Regions from separate parts of the Homo sapiens genome. Here region 1 is linked to region 2. The links are contacts of gene promoters, found by promoter capture Hi-C in blood cells and fetal thymus (Javierre and others, 2016). All regions are on one chromosome and are shown on one strand. Each heading gives the region's core, a stretch centred on a gene start or on the middle of the fragment in contact. The rest is flanking DNA. Distances are from core to core; before and after follow the strand shown.

Region 1 (3,901 bases), core at 1,141-3,640, 130 kb before region 2:
AAAACGAAAACACTATGAGATATCACAATATGGGATATCTAAAGTATGTCAAAAGACTTTCCAGGCCGGGCGCAGTGGCTCACGCCTACAATCTCAGCACTTCGGGAGGTTGAGGCAGGTGGATCACCTGAGGTCAGGAGTTCGGGACCAGCCTGGCCAACATGGCGAAACTCCGTCTTTACTAAAAATACAAAAATTAGCAGGGCGTGATGTCATGTACTTGCAGTCCCAGCTACTCAGGAGGTAGAGGCAGGAGAATCACTTGAACCCAGGAGGCAGAGGCTGCAGTGAGCCGAGATCGTGCCACTGCACTCCAGCCTAGGCACAGAGCGAGACTCTGTCTCAAAAAAAAAAAAAAACAAAAAAAACCTCATACCAGCTGCTACTTACTGAGCTGCATATATTCTCTTTCTTCCTTAAAAAAAACCTTCCAAGTTTGGCTGGGCACGGTGGCTCACACCTGTAATCCCAGCACTTTGGGAGGCCGAGGCGGGCGGATCACAAGGTCAGGAGATCGAGACCATCCTGGCTAACACGGTGAAACCCCATCTCTACTAAAAATACAAAAAATTAGCCGGGCGTGGTGGCGGGTGCCTGTAGTCCCAGCTACTCGGGAGGCTGAGGCAGGATAATGGCGTGAATCCGGGAGGCTGAGCTTGCAGTGAGCCGAGATGGCGCCACTGCACTCCAGCCTGGGTGACAGAGCAAGACACCATCTCAAAAAAAAAAAAAAAAAAACAGCTTGCAAGTTTGGCATCATCATCCTATTTGACAGGTAAGAAAATGAGGCTTGAGGAATATGAGTGACTTCTCCAAGTAGAGTTATTAAGAAGCCCAGCTACAATTCAATCCCCCAGAGCCCCAGTTTATCCCCAAGCCAAGATGTTACATTCTGGAAGCACAACTCATCAACAGCATCTCAGGTAAGGCAGATTATACTTCCTATTTTAGAAACCAAAACGAGAAAAAAACGTGAGGGGGCCTTCACTCCAGAGCCTATAGTTAACTGGATCAGTAATAGTAACAGCAAACAGGGTGAGGGTTGAAAATTTACCTATTGGGTACGATGATTACTATTTGGGTGATGGGTACACTAGATGCCCAACCCCACCACTACACAGCTGCACATGTACCCCGCGAATCTAAAATAAAATTTTAAAATAAAATAACAGCAAACACTTATCTAGCTTTTATTATGCTGCAGGAACTAACACTTTACATCTTATCCTCCTGACAAGTCCATGAGAAAGGTACTATTATTAGAACCATTTTTGGTTTTTGGGTTTTTGTTTTGTTTTGAGACAGGATCTTGCTGTCACCCAGGCTAGAGTGCAATGCTGCTACCATGGCTCACTGCAGCCTGCATCTCCCAGGCTCAAGCAATTCTCCCACATCAGCCTTCTCAGTAGCTGGGAATACAGGCATGTGCCACCATGCCCAGCTAATTAAAAAAATTTTTTTTTTGTAGAGACAGGGTCTTCCTATGTCGCCAGGACTGGTCTTGGACTCCTGGGCACAAACGATCCTTCCAACCTCAGCCTCCCAAAGTGCTGGGATTACAGGTATGAGCCACCACACCTGGCCCAGGCCCATTTTTAAATAGAAAATTGAGGAACAGAAAGGTTAAGTAATTTGTTCAGGGTCAGCTGGGCACAGCACTTTAGGAGGCCGAGGTGGGAGGATCACTTGAGGACAGCAGTTTGAGACCAGCCCGGGCAACATAGGCAAGACCCCTTCTCTACCAAAAAATATATACATTTTTTTGAGATGGAGTCTTGCTCTGTTGCCCAGGCTGGAGTGCAATGGCGCAATCTTGGCTCACTGCAAGCTCCGCCTCCCGGGTTCACGCCATTCTCCTGCCTCAGCCTCCCGAGTAGCTGAGACTACAGGTGCCCGCCACCATGCCTGGCTAATTTTTTATATTTTTAGTAGAGACGGGGTTTTACCGTGTTAGCCAGGATGGTCTCGATCTCCTGACCTCGTGATCCGCCCACCTCGGCCTCCCAAAGTGCTGAGATTACAGGCGTGAGCCACCACGCCCAGCAAATATTTTTCTTTTTAAAGAAGAAAAGTAATTTGTTCAGGGCCAAATAGCCAGGAATTGGCTTTTAACAATTATACTGTATACTCAGGGAAAGAGCACTAGATTGGAAATTAAAAGCCCCTCAGCTGTCAGGGGAAACTCCATAAACTCAGAAAGCTCATTTGACTCTCTGGGCCTCAGTTTCCCATGCATTAAATGTGAGTGTCAGCCTAGATAATTTTCCAAGTTTGTTTCAGCTCAATGATTCTTTGCAGAGAGAATAATCAGTCCTGAAGAGACATCAGGCCAGGCGCGGTGGCTCACACCTGTAATCCCAGCACTTTGGGTGGCTGAGGCAGGTGGGTCAGTTGAGGTCAGGAGTTCGAGACCAGCCTGGCCAACATGGTGAAACCCCATCTCTACTAAAAATACAAAAATTAGCTGGGCGCAGTGGCTCACACCTGTAATCCCAACACTTTGGGAGGCTGAGACAGGTGGATCATGAGGTCAGGAGTTCAAGACCAGCCTGGCCAAGATGGTGAAACCCTGACTCTACTAAAAATACAAAAATTAGCTGGACGTGGTGGCGGGTGCCTTTAATCCTAGCTATTTGAGAGGCTGAGACAGAGAATTACTTGAACCTGGCAGAGGTTGCAGTGAGCCGAGATCGCACCACTGCACTCCAGCCTGAACGACAGAGTGAGACTCCGTCTCAAAAAAAAAAAAAAAAACCCACAAAAATTAGTGAGGTGTGGTGGCACGCACCTATAATCCCAGGTACTTGGGAGGCTGAGGCAGGAGAATCGGCTGAACCCAGAAGGCGGAGGTTGCAGTGAGCCGAGATTGCGTCACTGCACTCCAGCCTGGGTGACTAAGCAAGACTCCATCTCAAAAAATAAAAGAAAAATTTATCTAAAGAGACATCAGTCTGAGATTAAGTGCAATCTTTGCTCATTTATGGATTCTTCTGCCACCCTACCTGGGGGATTTTATATCAATATAGGGCACGAGTCAGTTTCTGCTTTTGTTTTGTTTTGTTTTGTTTTGTTTTGAGATGGAGTTTCACTCTTGTTACCCAAGCTGGAGTGCAATGGTGCTATCTCGGCTCACTGCAACCTCTGCCCCCCGGGTTCAAGTGATTCTCCTGCCTCAGCCTCCCGAGTAGCTGGGATTACAGGCGATCGCCACCGTGCCAGCTAATTTTTTGTATTTTTAGTAGAAATGGGGTTTCACTATGTTAGCCAGGCTGGTCTCGAACTCCTGACCTCATGTGATCCACCCACCTCGGTCTCCCAAAGTGCTTGGATTACAGGCGTGAGCCACCGCACCCAGCCCTGTTTTTTCGTAAATACGAAGAACAATGAGAAAATTTGTGTCTGAGGAAGCCTACTCTGGAAAGGGAATTCCTGAAGACACTCGAGGAGACAGCAGTTGGTAATGCTCAATGTGACTCACCCGTTTCTATCATATTTCTTGAACACTGGGAAAGCCTCCAGAGGGTCTCCAAGCTGTGGAGGGAAAGAAAAGAGGAACAGCACAGACAAGTGGGGCGGAGGTGCAGATCCTATCCCAAGAGCTGTTGTCTTGGAGTGGGATGCTGTGGGGACCCACAACGGGAGACTAACTTCAGAACCAGGAGCAGCCTCCCAAAACCCACCATTTGCCTAGCTCTGAAGTCACATGTGCGAGGAAGGCTTTGGTGGAAAGGCCCAGGAGAGTTAAGTTTGGCATCACCTGACAGGGCAAGAGGAGACCTCATTAGCCTGTGGGCATACAACCTGCTCACAGCACAGCTAACCCAAAGAAGAGGCTACCTGATCTGCTGCACACTGACTTTACCTGGTTACAACTCCAAATGGAAAATCAAGCCCCTGAGCC
Region 2 (3,957 bases), core at 743-3,242:
ACTTTCACTCCCAGTCTCCCAAGAGCACCGCAGCCTTCCCCATCTCGGAAAATGGGAAGGCTCTTCCTCCAGTTGCTCAGGCCAAAAACCTTGAATTCAATCTTTCTTCCTCTCTCCACCGAAATCTTTCCAGAAGCTTGTGCTGCCGGACCTTTGCACTTGCTATTCGGCCTGAAATGCTCTTCCTGCAGATATCTGCAAGGTTGGCATCCTCACTTCCTTCGGGTCTGTGCTCAAAATTCACCTTATTAGAAAACCCTTTCTGAACCACTCGATATATTCAATTAAATACCCATTCCTCCTCTTTCTCCTTTTCCTGCTTTAGTGATCTCTGAACCATTTATTGCCACCCAACATACTATACATGAACCTATTTCTCTGTCTTTAGCCATTGGTATATATATGTTCTTCAAGAGCAGGGTTTCGGTTGCTCTGTTTACTACTACTTCCCAGCCTAAAAACACTAGCCTAAACAGCCTAAAGTAGACGTCCAGTGAATATTGGTTGAATGAATTCACCTGTCTATTCCTGCCCTAACAGTGGGGATAAGGCCACCCTTGCAGGGTTGAGAGGATTAACTGAGACAGCCTCTGACAATGCCCAATGAACACTCAACAAATATTAGCAGAAGTAGGAAAACAACCTATCTTTTGGACTAAATGCTCCGAGAAGGGAGGTGACCTTTATTTCCCTCATGAATTTTATAACCCTTCCAGTTCCAAAAAGGATGACAGGCAGTGCAGGCAGACATCATTCTGTTCGGCTGAAGTTCAATGAATGGCATTGCTGCTCTCAACCTCTTTTGGGTACTATCCCGCCTAAGAAAAGCGGGGTGGGAGAATGGAAATATATTTGCATTTTCATGCATATTAAGTCTCCCACAAAGATGGCTCTTTGTTTTCTTACGGTTTGCAAGCTCCTGAGGACTAGAAATCGGTGAAGGGGGAGGGGAGAGCGAGTGTTCTGAGATTGTTCCTCCCATCCCCTCCCAAAGCTAATCTCGTTCTAGCACTGCACTGCTTTTCCAAACTAGCTGTTGTATGCAGTCCCATTCATCCCTTCTCTCCAGAACTTGACACCTGTGGCTCCTGCAAGTGGAAGGCCCGGGAATGGGAATGAAGCGGGGTGGTGGGCAGGGAAGCGTTATGCTCGGAGAGCCCTTAAAATTCTCCTGGAGGTCGGCAGCGGCGCCCGCCTGTAGCCTCCGGCCTAGAGGCTTCGCCGCCCCTCGGACTAGAACACAGCCCGGCCGTTGTGCTTGCCTCCCCTTCCCAGGCTGTGAGACGGCGGCCGCAACCACCCAGCGCCTCTGGGGATCCGGCCTCTGGTGCTGGGCCCGGGAGAGGGGGCGCTTGGGCACCGGAAGATCCGGAGCGTGCGGGGCGTGGATCGAAGTCTCCAGACCCTGGGCGGGGGAAAGGGGAAGGGAGGGGGAAATCGAGGAGGCCTGAGCTTCTAAACCATGGTGGGGGAGGTGCAAGAGCGCGCCCTGGACCCAGATCCGAGAGGGAAACCTGGGCCCCAAGGCTGAAGGGGGTGAGAAGGTGCCCGGGTCCCGGACCCCGACTGGGGAGGGACGGCCCCAGCCCCGGCCCCGCACCGTGACGCGGAAGTGGAATCCCCTCCATCCTCACCTCTGAGCATCGGCTCGGGCCGCGGAATTACGGCCACCACCATGGCCTCCTCCTCGTCCTCCCCTTCCTCGCATTTCAGCGTCACCTCGAAGCAGTCGAGTGCGGCGCCCTCGGCCTTTAGGGCCATGGTGCGGCCGTGGGCGATAGCAGTGGCCGGAGGACTGGCGCGCAGGCTTCGGCGCGCAGCCGGCAACCGCCTCCCGCCTCCTGGCCGGAATAGCGCCGGGCCCGCCGCCCGCCCCGCGCAGCCCCCTCCCCGCCGCCCGCCCGCCGCTCGCCGGCCGGGCCTGCGACCGGCGCGTCCGGGCCTCCCCGAGACCTCGGCGCGTCGGGAGCCCGGGCGGGGAGGGCTCAATCCGGGGCCCCTGCCCCCCGCCGCTCCCTTTTATGGAGGCTCATTGTCGGCGCCCGCCCGGCCGGCCAGCCGCGGACCCGCCCCCGATGCCGCGCGGCCAATCGCGCGTGGCCCCGCCCCGGGCACGCGGCCCCGTTAGAAACCCTGGACCCGGGAGGCGGCGGGAAGGGCCGAGGGGACCCGGGGCCACCCGGTGCGCAGAGGCAGAGGGGCCCCCAAAACCCGCAACGCGGGCCCCTCAGTCTGCGGGCCAAGCCCGGGGTTTCCCTCCATTAAGAAGTCAGTTGGGCGTTTCTGCTGGCGTGGAGAGCGCTACCAGGTGCCCCCGGATTTTGATCGGGAGTCGCTTTTGCCTTTCCGTGGACAAGCCTTCCTCCGCCAGCAGATGCCCCGGGCAGGAAGAGAAGCGGTGGGTGAGTGGAAAGGGCCTTGGTATGGAAACGCAGAGACCGAATTCCTTCTCATCTGCCAGCTCCGTGGCCGTGGGCACATTATCTGTTTTCTTAGTCCGGCTCATCGTTTCTTTCAAAAACCATTTTGGACCCTTCTGGGAAGGCAAAGAAGAGAAGCAGAGTGGACTGTGAGCGGACATAAACCACCCTGATGGGTATGATTTCCATTTTTGGCACGGGAGTCCGGAGATTTTGTGACCCTCTCCAAGGACACACAGCAATCCCTTGAGAGCCCCAAGACCAGAGTCCAGTTGCCATGACATTGCTGCCCTATAACCACACTCTGGGTGAGCTTTTACTTCTGTGACATGGAATGTGCATCTCCCTCTTCTATAGCAACCCTCATGAGATTTCAGCTCAGAAAATGCAAAATGTCTGACACTGAAAATCCATCTTCGAATGTCGTTATATCAGACCAGACACAGTAGTATTCAGAATCGCGTAGTAGGATGGGGGTGTGAGAAGAGGTGTGAACTAGTCTATATGGATTGCAGTCAATTTTTTAATTTTTTTTTTTTTGAGACAGAGTCTCGCTCTGTCACCAGGCTGGAGTGCAGTGGCGCTATCTCGGCTCACCACAACCTCCGCCTCCCAGGTTCAAGCTATTCTCCCGCCTCAGCCTCCTGGGTAGCTGGGACTACAGGCACGTGCCACCATGCCCGGCTAATTTTTGTATTTTTAGTAGAGACGGGGTTTCAGCATGTTGGCCAGGATGGTCTTGATCTCTTGACCTCATCATCCGTCTGCCTCGGCCTCCCAAAGTGGGATTACAGGCGTGAGCCACCGCGCCTGGCCTTGCAGTCTATTTTTAAGGGAATTATTTTGTTATGTGCAAGTGTATCTGATATTTTAAAGGTTTTACAACAAAGGTATTACCAAGCCTGTTTAACTATTTCTGCTGAATGGTCATTCTCTACCATTTGCTACAGATCCCTTCCGTGCCCCTCTGCTCTGCTCTGTATTGCAGTGGGCTGAGTCTTGCGGGGGGCAGTTTCTCAGGCTCCCAGAGCATCTGGCTTCAGGCCTCGGTTTAGCCAATGGGAGGCAGTGGCAGGAGAAGAGAAGGCAGGAGGAAAGAAAGAGCCATGGTATTTCTTCTCTTTCTCTCTCTTGCTCAGGCTCAGGTGACATCTCCAGCAGCAGATGAGGCCTCTCTGTGGCTCCAGCTCATGGATAGGTAGCTGTGGTCCCAACATCTGTAGGATGATCCATGCCCCTGGGCTCTACTCAGTCCACCTCCTCTTTTTGTCCCTGCAGGTTAGGAGTTGTAGGCAGCTTCTTGCTTTTGCCAGTCTCTGTACTGCCTCTCTCTGTCCCCTGCTGGGCTTTCCAGACCTCCCTGTTAACCCCTGTTAATCGTGTCACCAAAACCCTGCATTACATTCTCTCTGTTTTCAATACTTAAAGTGGTTCCCTCCTGGCGGGGCGCAGTGGCTCCCAACTGTAATCCCAGCAGTTTGGGAGGCCAAGGCAGGTGGATCACTTGAGGTCAGGAGTTCGAGACCAGCCTGGCCAA

What was found. Contacts are between HindIII fragments. The CHiCAGO score rates a contact against its expected background, and 5 or more counts as called.
Region 1: a contact is called between a fragment that was not itself captured here and the fragment with the promoter of SPINDOC in region 2, in 9 of 17 cell types (M2 macrophages, M0 macrophages, M1 macrophages and 6 more). The highest score is 8.1, in M2 macrophages.

The regions. Positions count from the first base shown.
Region 1 is chr11:63,946,581-63,950,481 of GRCh38, reverse strand. NAA40 (N-alpha-acetyltransferase 40, NatD catalytic subunit) reads right to left here. Exons shown (of 8, transcript NM_024771.4): 3 at 3,479-3,531. Among named protein-coding and RNA genes, the nearest start is that of NAA40, 9.5 kb to the right of the region's middle. The HindIII fragment of the contact is 8,489 bases long and covers 1-3,901 here.
Region 2 is chr11:63,811,491-63,815,447 of GRCh38, reverse strand. SPINDOC (spindlin interactor and repressor of chromatin binding) reads right to left here and starts at 1,992. Exons shown (of 6, transcript NM_138471.3): 1 at 1,635-1,992. The coding sequence starts at 1,761. RefSeq lists silencers at 1,887-2,356, 3,617-3,911. The HindIII fragment of the contact is 4,146 bases long and covers 139-3,957 here.